Regions from separate parts of the Homo sapiens genome. Here regions 2 and 3 are each linked to region 1. Evidence: promoter capture Hi-C in 16 types of primary human blood cells and fetal thymus (Javierre and others, 2016). All regions are on one chromosome and are shown on one strand. The core of a region is centred on a gene start or on the middle of the fragment in contact, and the rest is flanking DNA. Distances in the headings are between cores, read along the strand shown. Region 1 holds the start of CELA1 (chymotrypsin like elastase 1). Region 2 overlaps TFCP2 (transcription factor CP2). Region 3 overlaps TFCP2 (transcription factor CP2).

The links. Contacts are between HindIII fragments. The CHiCAGO score rates a contact against its expected background, and 5 or more counts as called.
Region 2: a contact is called between a fragment that was not itself captured here and the fragment with the promoter of CELA1 in region 1, in 4 of 17 cell types (M1 macrophages, naive CD4 T cells, activated CD4 T cells and 1 more). The highest score is 6.0, in M1 macrophages.
Region 3: a contact is called between a fragment that was not itself captured here and the fragment with the promoter of CELA1 in region 1, in 2 of 17 cell types (M1 macrophages and M2 macrophages). The highest score is 6.4, in M1 macrophages.

What each region holds. Positions count from the first base shown.
Region 1 is chr12:51,345,182-51,348,054 of GRCh38, reverse strand. It overlaps CELA1 (chymotrypsin like elastase 1), which reads left to right and starts at 1,376. Exons shown (of 8, transcript NM_001971.6): 1 at 1,376-1,432; 2 at 2,178-2,260. The coding sequence starts at 1,417. The HindIII fragment of the contact is 4,543 bases long and covers 1-2,873 here.
Region 2 is chr12:51,115,200-51,118,072 of GRCh38, reverse strand. TFCP2 (transcription factor CP2) reads left to right here. Exons shown (of 15, transcript NM_005653.5): 3 at 326-402; 4 at 1,653-1,758. Among named protein-coding and RNA genes, the nearest start is that of CSRNP2, 33 kb to the right of the region's middle. The HindIII fragment of the contact is 5,289 bases long and covers 1-2,873 here.
Region 3 is chr12:51,137,079-51,139,951 of GRCh38, reverse strand. All of the region lies in intron 1 of TFCP2 (transcription factor CP2), which reads left to right. Among named protein-coding and RNA genes, the nearest start is that of TFCP2, 35 kb to the left of the region's middle. The HindIII fragment of the contact is 1,352 bases long and covers 717-2,068 here.

The sequences.
Region 1 (2,873 bases), core at 127-2,626:
TTTCTCTCTCTATTTATTTATTTATTTATTTATTTATTTATTTATTTATTTATTTATTTTGAGACAGAGTCTTGCTCTGTCTCCAGGCTGGAGTGCAGCAACCTCCGCTTCCCAGGTTGAAGCGATTCTCCTGCCTCAGCCTCCAGATTAGCTGGGACTGCAGAAGCGCACCACCATGCCCAGCTAATTTTTGTATTTTGTTTTTGTTTTTTTTTAGATGGAGTCTCGCTCTGTCGCCCAGGTTGGAGTGCAGTGGCGCGATCTCGGCTCACTGCAAGCTCCGCCTCCCGGGCTCACGCCATTCTCCTGCCTGCGCCTCCCGAGGAGCTGGGACTACAGGCGCCTGCCACCACGCCCAGCTAATTTTTTGTATTTTTTTAGTAGAGACGGGGTTTCACTGTGTTAGCCAGAGTAGTCTCAATCTCCTGACCTCGTGATCCGCCCGCCTCCGACTCCCAAAGTGCTGGGATTACAGGCATGAGCCACCGCGCCCGGCCAATTTTTGTATTTTTAGTAGACGGGGTTTCGCCATGTTGGCCAGGATGGTCTCGATCTCTTGATCTTGTGATCCGCCCGCCTCAGCCTCCCAAAGTGCTGGGATTACAGGCGTAAACCACCGCGCCCGGCCGCAACTCCCTTCTCTCTCCTCTACGAACTGTGATGAACAAAGCCTTTCATCTCCTGCAGGAACCTCGGCTCCTACCCTCGTTCTCCCTCTGCCCTCCACCCTCCATCTACCCTCATAGCCCTCAGACTGTCTTCACATCCCAAGGATCCCCTCCTCTACCCTGCCTCATATTCTCCTCTGGGAGCCCCTTCTTGGCTCTCCATCTGAGAGGGCCCAAGCCTGTTTCTCAGTACTTTCCTCCCCCAGAATTATCTCCACTGCATCTATTTGGCTTTTGTGTCTGCATTTACACCTATGCCTGCATCCTGGGGGCATGTGCCATCTCCCTCTTTGGGCAGAGAGAGTTGCTGTGTCTTCCTTGCCCTTGCTAACCACTCCCCCCTCTTCCACTATCCCCCTGGCCTCCAGCTGCTAGTGCACAGGGCAAGTCTCTGCATTTATGGTGCCACTGAGGACAACGAGAGAGTGATGGATGACAAGGGGTGCTCCCTTAGAGAAAAACCAGCCCTGGTTCTCCATCTTATTTCTGAAAAAGAGTTTGTTGGATGCTTTTCAATTAAAAGCAGATGATTAATTCAGCCCTGGCCTTGTTCTGTCTTTGAATAACAGATACATTAGTTTACTTGAAAAGAAATATTTTCATTTGTATTTCCATGTCACTTGTGATTTTCCCTGCCTTGCACCCTCAGCCCTGCCAGTTGGCAAGAAGACAGTCAGCTTTGCTGCTAAGAGGAGTATAAAGAGGGCTTGGTCCAAGCAAGAAGGCAGTGGTCTACTCCATCGGCAACATGCTGGTCCTTTATGGTAAGTGGATATGGTCCAGTCGCAACCCTGGTCCTTTATGGTAAGTGGATCATGTGGCCTGAGGTCTATAGGGAGGGGGACTTGGGCAGGAAGGTCAGCAAATTTTCCCTAAGTCCAGGCCAGCACCCTGTCCCAGGGCAGGTGGGACGCTCTGCCTGCAGAGCGTCCTTTACTCTCCTGGAGGCCAAGATAGAAAAGGTCAGGGCCACTGGCTATTCAGGCCCCTCTGGGTGGCAGGTCCCTGGGCCACAAAGCAGAGAGAAGCCCCATCTGGTAGTGGGGTGGGTCCCTGGGCTTCCCCACCACCCCCATTGACAGGAGGACTTCCTCAGCAGGTGCCTGGCTGGGGTGTGCACTGCAGGCCCTGAACCCTGGAGAATCTTGCCAAAGCATTAGGGGGCTGGTGGGGGTCAAAGAGTGGGGGGGGGTCTCTTCAGGCCAAAGGGTGATCTTGAGCAAAGAGGAGACCACAAGGAGCCTCTGGGGCCTAGCCTGGTGGTTTGAGAGAGGTCCTTCATAGCATGCCGGAGTTCTGGGAACACCTGGGGGAAACAGAAGGCACCCAGGCACCCCTGTTTTCAAAAGGGGCTCAGAGAACTCACAGCTGGGCCCCTCATTCGTTAGAGAGGAACTGTGAATTTGCAGACAAGGCTAACATTCCTCAAAGCACAATCGCCACCCCCCACCCCTACCCCTGGCTGACCCCATGCTTAGTCATCACTCACTTTTCTTCTGCCCCACAAAGGACACAGCACCCAGGACCTTCCGGAAACCAATGCCCGCGTAGTCGGAGGGACTGAGGCCGGGAGGAATTCCTGGCCCTCTCAGGTGGGTGTTCCTTCCCAGCCCCAGACTTCCACCCAAATAAGAGCTCAGTGCATGACATAAGGTATCATGTGTATTTGTGCATGTCCCTATCAACAAGCAGCTCTCCAATTGTCTAGGTTCTCGATTTTAAAGATGGATGGGATCAGGCTTAGGTGGTTTTCTAAATGCAAAAGGCTTGGAGGAGGGGATTTATACACCAACCACAGTCCCTCTTCAAGGCACACACCCAAACACAAGATACATTTATATTCTCAGCGACAGCACTTGTGCCACGCAAGAAAGACTGGGTGCCAGACAGTCACCTTGGACTCCACATACCTTGAAACTCACACGCACACCACTCCACACTGTGTGTGTCACAATGCTTGCACGCATGTGCGCGCACACACACACACACACACGTACAGCATGCTGCTTAGTTGGCTATTTAGAGTTTCCACTTTGCTAACAGGGCAGCTGGGCCCTGATTTAAGTGATCTAAATATGTAAACCTGGCAAATTAACTGATGAAGATCCACACTTTGAGAAGATATCACTGCAATCAGAGTTTTAGCTTATAAAAGTCTGAGCCCCAGTTTTCAGGAGTAGAGCTATTACATAACATGAGGTGCTA
Region 2 (2,873 bases), core at 169-2,668, 230 kb after region 1:
TTACTGTCTGAGAAGTATTACTCTACCTGGCTCTATTATTTACCAATTGTGTGGCCTTGGACAAGTTGCTAAAACTCTTTTAAGTTTCAATTTCTTTGTCTGTAAAATGGGATTGATAATACCTTAGAAAAGTATATCAGTTAAATGAGATAATGTGACAATACTTAGCACAGTGCTGAGCATCTTGTAAAGGCTTCTGATTGTTGTTACTAATACTAATAATATTATTATACTGTTGTATATTCAACCAACTGAATTTTATTCTTTCCGAATCTAGCAAAGTTAATTTGTGGTGAATATAATATGTAATTACTTTTTCTTCTAGGACAGTCTTATGAAATTCGAATGCTAGACAATAGGAAACTTGGAGAACTTCCAGAAATTAATGGCAAATTGGTGAAGGTAAAACGAATAAATCATTCTTCTGTACAATATTTTTTACTAATCCTTTTGGGATTTTAAATTTTGTTGTTGTTGTTAATGTTCTTTTGCTTCCAATGGCTTAATGGTATCTCTTGCCTGCAGTAATTTGTTGGCAGAGTAGTAAGCTGATGTGTTATTTCTTTGGGGTCAGAGTAAGCCCCAGTATTCACATGAATTTTTCAGAGCTGCAGAAATAGAACGCTTACCACTCCCTGTCCAGGGTAATCACCCCTGGCTCAGTGAAGTTCTTTTGGGTGGAGTAAAGTAACCTCCTTGAGATCTTTAGAGAAGCCTCAGTGTCTTTTTTGATACTTAGTCTTATAGCAAGGAAAACAGAAGCTACTTTGATGAAGAGCAGTTCTCTTAGTCTAGATTAACAGTTAGGATTTTGATAATTCACAGCACAGTTGAAACAGAGGAGTTTTGTCAAAAGGTGGTGGGAGGAATTAATAGGCACTTCTACAAAGTAAGAGTAACAAAAGGAAAGTTGATGGAAACAGGCTCTACCTACCCTCAGTGTTTACAGGTTGTATGGTGGGTTAGCAAGCGGGGGAGTTGGTGAGTTTTTCATATACATCTGAAGAGCTAAGCCAGATAGGCCGTGGTATAACAGAAGAGGTGTGCAGAAACGCTTCAGACAGGAGTACTTTATTCCTAGTTACCATCGGACTGAAGTTTAAGCCAAGTTTTAAATATGGTACCAGTTAACTATAAAGATTCTATCTGAGAAATTGGCTGGACCCGGTGGCTCACGCCTATAGTCCCAGCACTTTGAGAGGCTGAGGCGGGCGGGTCGCCTGAGGTTGGGAGTTTGAGACCAGCCTGACCAACATGGAGAAACCCTGTCTCTACAAAAAATACAAAATTAGTCAGGCGTGGTAGCACATGCCTGTAATCCCAGCTACTCAGGAGGCTGAGGCAGGAGAATTCCTTGAACCCGGGAGGTGGAGGTTGCGGTGAGCCGAGATCACACCATTGCACTCCAACCTGGGCAACAAGAGCAAAATCTGTTTCAAAAAAAAAAAAAAAGATTATATCTGAGAAATTATAAAATTTTATCCTGAAATAGCACTTAGTATGGTATGGGTTTTAGAGTGAAACAGATCTTAAGAAAAATAATTTTAGATTGCGTTTAGAAACAAACTGGCAGTGAATCCTGCTAGTTTTTCTTTGTCAGCACTGATTTTCAAGAGGTCTTGTTATCATCTGATTTTGTTGTATCCTTTTAGAGTATATTCCGTGTGGTGTTCCATGACAGAAGGCTTCAGTACACTGAGCATCAGCAGCTAGAGGGCTGGAGGTGGAACCGACCTGGAGACAGAATTCTTGACATAGGTGAGTTAAGAGAATCTATTGCCTAGGAAATGCCTTTAGCTATGGACCCAGAGTTGGTTTTCTTTATTTGACATTTACCTTGATTCATATGCTTGAGAGGCTCAATTAGTATAAACCTTGAAATTATTTACTAAGCATAAAAAATTTTAAGTAATACAAGTTAAAATGATATCAAAATTGAAGTTGGAAGTGTAAACACTTTAGTTCCATAGCAACTATAGGTTGATTTTGTTGTTTTTTAAGTTGTGGTAAAATATACATTACATAAAAGTTATCATTTTAACCATTTTTAAGTGGATAGTTCAGTAACATTAGGTACATTCACATTATTGTGTAACCATCACTATCATCCATCTCCAGAACTTTTCTCATCTGCAAAACCAGAAGTCTGTACCTGTTAAACAACAACTCCCCATTCTCCCTTCTTCACAGCCCCTGGTAACCACTATTCTCCTTTCTGTCTCTATGAATTGGACTACTAAGTACTGCATAAATGAAATCATACAGTATTTGTCCTTTTGTGACTGGCATTTTTCACTTAGCATAATGTTTTCAAGGTTCATGGTATAGCATACATTAGCATTTCCTTCCCATGCAAGGCTGAATAATACTCCATTGTGTGTATATATCACACTTTGTTTATCCATTCATCCCATGATAGGCACTTAATTTGATTCCATTTCCTGGCTATTGTGAATAATGCTGCTATGAACATGGATGTACAAATATGTGTTTGAGTCTCTGCTTTTAATTCTTTTGGATACATATCCAGAAATGGAATTGCTGGGTCATATGGTAACTCTATCTTAGATTTTTTTTAGAAACCACTATATTGTTTTCCACAGTGACTACACATTTTACATTTCTACCAGCGGTACTCAAAGGTTCCAATTTCGGCCGGGCGCGATGGCTCACGCCTGTAATCCCAAAACTTTGGGAGGCCAAGGTGGGCAGAACATGAGGTCAGGAAATCGAGACCATCCTGGCTAACATGGTGAAACCCCGTCTCCACTCAAAATACAAAGAAATTAGCTGGGCGTGGTGGCGGGCGCCTGTAGTCCCAGCTACCCAGGAGGCTGAGGCAGGAGAATGGTGTGAACCCGGGAGGCGGAGCT
Region 3 (2,873 bases), core at 143-2,642, 210 kb after region 1:
TTTGTAAATCCAGTATTTAATAGCTGTGTAACCTTGGGCACATCATTTAACATTTCTAATTACTGTAGCCTCAGTTCCTTCAGTTGGAAAATGGTGAGGAGGAGACAATTCCTCCTACCTCACAGCATTATTGTATGAATTAAATGGAAATTTATGTGCAAAAAATGAATCATAGCAATTGAGTTGAGGTAGAAGAGAGCAGGTGGACCCCAAGGCCTGGGGGCAAGGGAAAGAACTGCAGTTTGTCTGCTGAATCTTTTAAAAAAGTCAAAGAGGCCAGGTGCAGTGTCTCCTGTCTGTCATGTCAGCACTTTAGGAGGCTGAGGCAGGAGGATCCTGAGAGGCCAGGAGTTCAGCACCAGTCTGGGCAACATAGTGAGGCCCTGTCTGTACAAAAAATTAAAAGATGAGCCAGGTGTGGTGGTGTGTGCCTATAGTCCTAGCTACTTGGGAGGCTGAGGCTGAGGTGGGTGGATTGATTGGGCCCAGGAGTTTGAGACTTGCAGTGAGCTATGATCACGCCACTGCTCTCCAGCCTGGGCAACAGAGCAAGACGCCGTCTCACTATACATATGTAGATAAAGGGAAAAGAGAGATGGGAAGTATGGTGAGAGATGAGACTGAAAAGGTAAACTGGGCCCAGTTTTGAAGAGTTTTGGGAGCCATGTTGAAGAGTTAGCACTTTATCATGATTGCGTTGGGAAACCACTGAAGCTTTATAAACAGAGAAGGGACATTTCTAGATTTACCTTTTTAAAAAGTTACTCTGGCTGCAGGTTAGAGGATAATGATAAAAAGCTAGTTATCATGCCTGAGGAGGGTTGAGGCTTAGTAAACTGGGTGTCTTCTGCTCTGCATATCCTTAGAAATACAAATTTACTCTCTGTCTATAAAAGACAAGGGGCAAATAACATTTCTGCTTTGATTGCATCATCAGGTCTAACTGGTTACATCTCTAGGGAATTTGCTGGCCATTTTAGAAGAAAAGGCCTTCCTTCATCAGAAATGTGGTCTGGCCGGGCATGGTGGCTCACACCTGTAATCCCAGCACTTTGGGAGGCCGAGGCTGGTGGATCACCTGAGGTTGGGAGTTCGAGAACAGCCTGACCAACATGGAGAAACCCCGTCTCTAGTGAAAATAGAAAGTTAGCCAGGTGTGGTGGCGCACACCTGTGATCCCAGCTACTCAGGAGGCTGAGGCAGGAGAATCGCTTGGACCCGGGAGGCGGATGTTGTGGTGAGCCAAGATCATGCCATTGCACTCCAGCCTCTCACCATTGCACTCCAGCCTGGGCAACAGAGCGAAACTTGGTCTCAAAAGAAAAAAGAAATGTGGTCTGAAGGAGGAGAAATGTTCGTAAGTCCTATCACTTTTAGCATAAAAGAGGAGAGATGGTTAGAGCCTATTTACCATTTCATAGGACTAACTATTCTGGTACTTTCAGGATTTTCCTGAAAGTCATCGGCAATTAAAGCCTTAAAACACAGAAAACTAGGCCAGGCACAGTGGTTCACACCTGTAATCCCAACAATTTGGGAGGCCGAGGCGGTTGGATCACTTAAGGCCAGGAGTTTGAGACCAGCTTGGCCAATGTGGTGAAACCCCATTTCTACTAAAAATACAAAAATTAGCCAGGCATGGTTTACATGGGATTATAGGAGTGCGCCTGTAATCCCAGCTACTCGACAGGCCGAGGCGGGAGAATCACTTGAACGTGGAAGTCGTAGGTTGTAGTGAGCCGAGATAGTGCCATTGCACTACAGCCTGGGCGACAGAGTGCTACTCCATCTCAAAAAACAAACAAACAAAACACACACAGAGAAAAATAGAAAATAAATAAATACACAGAAAAGTGTCTGTGCTTGCCTTTCATTAAGGGGAGGAATGAGGGACTAGAGAGATTGTCCTACTTTGAAGCCAGGCATGGTAGGGAGTACAGGATGAGCAAGACATAAGAACTCTCAAGTATAGAGAGGTAATAGTGATGCTTGCCAGTGAAGATGGAAGCCTGACTGCAAGAGGGAAGAAAGCATGAGCTGGTAGACATTTTGGATCGGAAAAGAAGCTTTGAGGCTCAGCACTATAAAGGGCTAAGTGTGGATTCCCTTAGTCCCAAGAAAACAAAACAAAACAAAACTGTTGGTGTTTTCCCAGTTATGCCATACTATGATGATATACATTTGATCTTTGAATACTGAAATGGGAGTTCTATTTTCTGTATCAAAATAGTCAGATTCCCTTCAACATATAGCCTATGAATATTGCTGCGAGTTGCCATTTTTTGCCTAACTGGAAAGAGTCAGTGATTTCAGAAATTTAATAAAAGAGCCTAGTACTAATGATGCCACAGGTGATGTTTTCAATTAGCAGTGTTTTAATGAGATCTGTAGGCTGGTAAATGCTAATCCTATAATGTATGAAAAAAACTAAGAAGGTAGGCCTATATCTAGTAAATCTCCTGAGGTAGGGCTTTGCTGATTCAGATTTCTTTGATTAAACTTTTAATATCTTACAAGCTCCCTGGAAGTAAATTTGTATCTGACACAGATACTTTTCAGCTTCCAAAATAAATAAGGTTAGCAAAAATTAGATGTGTTTAGTGACTTTATAAGCTAAAGGAAAATAAAAGCACATTTCTGGTAGGTATAAATAATTGGTAGTTGGCAAATAATTCAGCAGAGTGGAAATGTGAGAGACTGAAAGACTTGAGGCAAAAAAAGGGAAATCAGCTCCATTTTTTGGTAAACTTTGAGATGTACATAATGAAATGTACATCTGGTATCTCGCAAGTGATCTAAACTGATCTCATAATCGTGCTGAAGAAATAGATTTGTAGTCCAGAAGCACTTCTTAAAGTGCTTAAAGAACATTA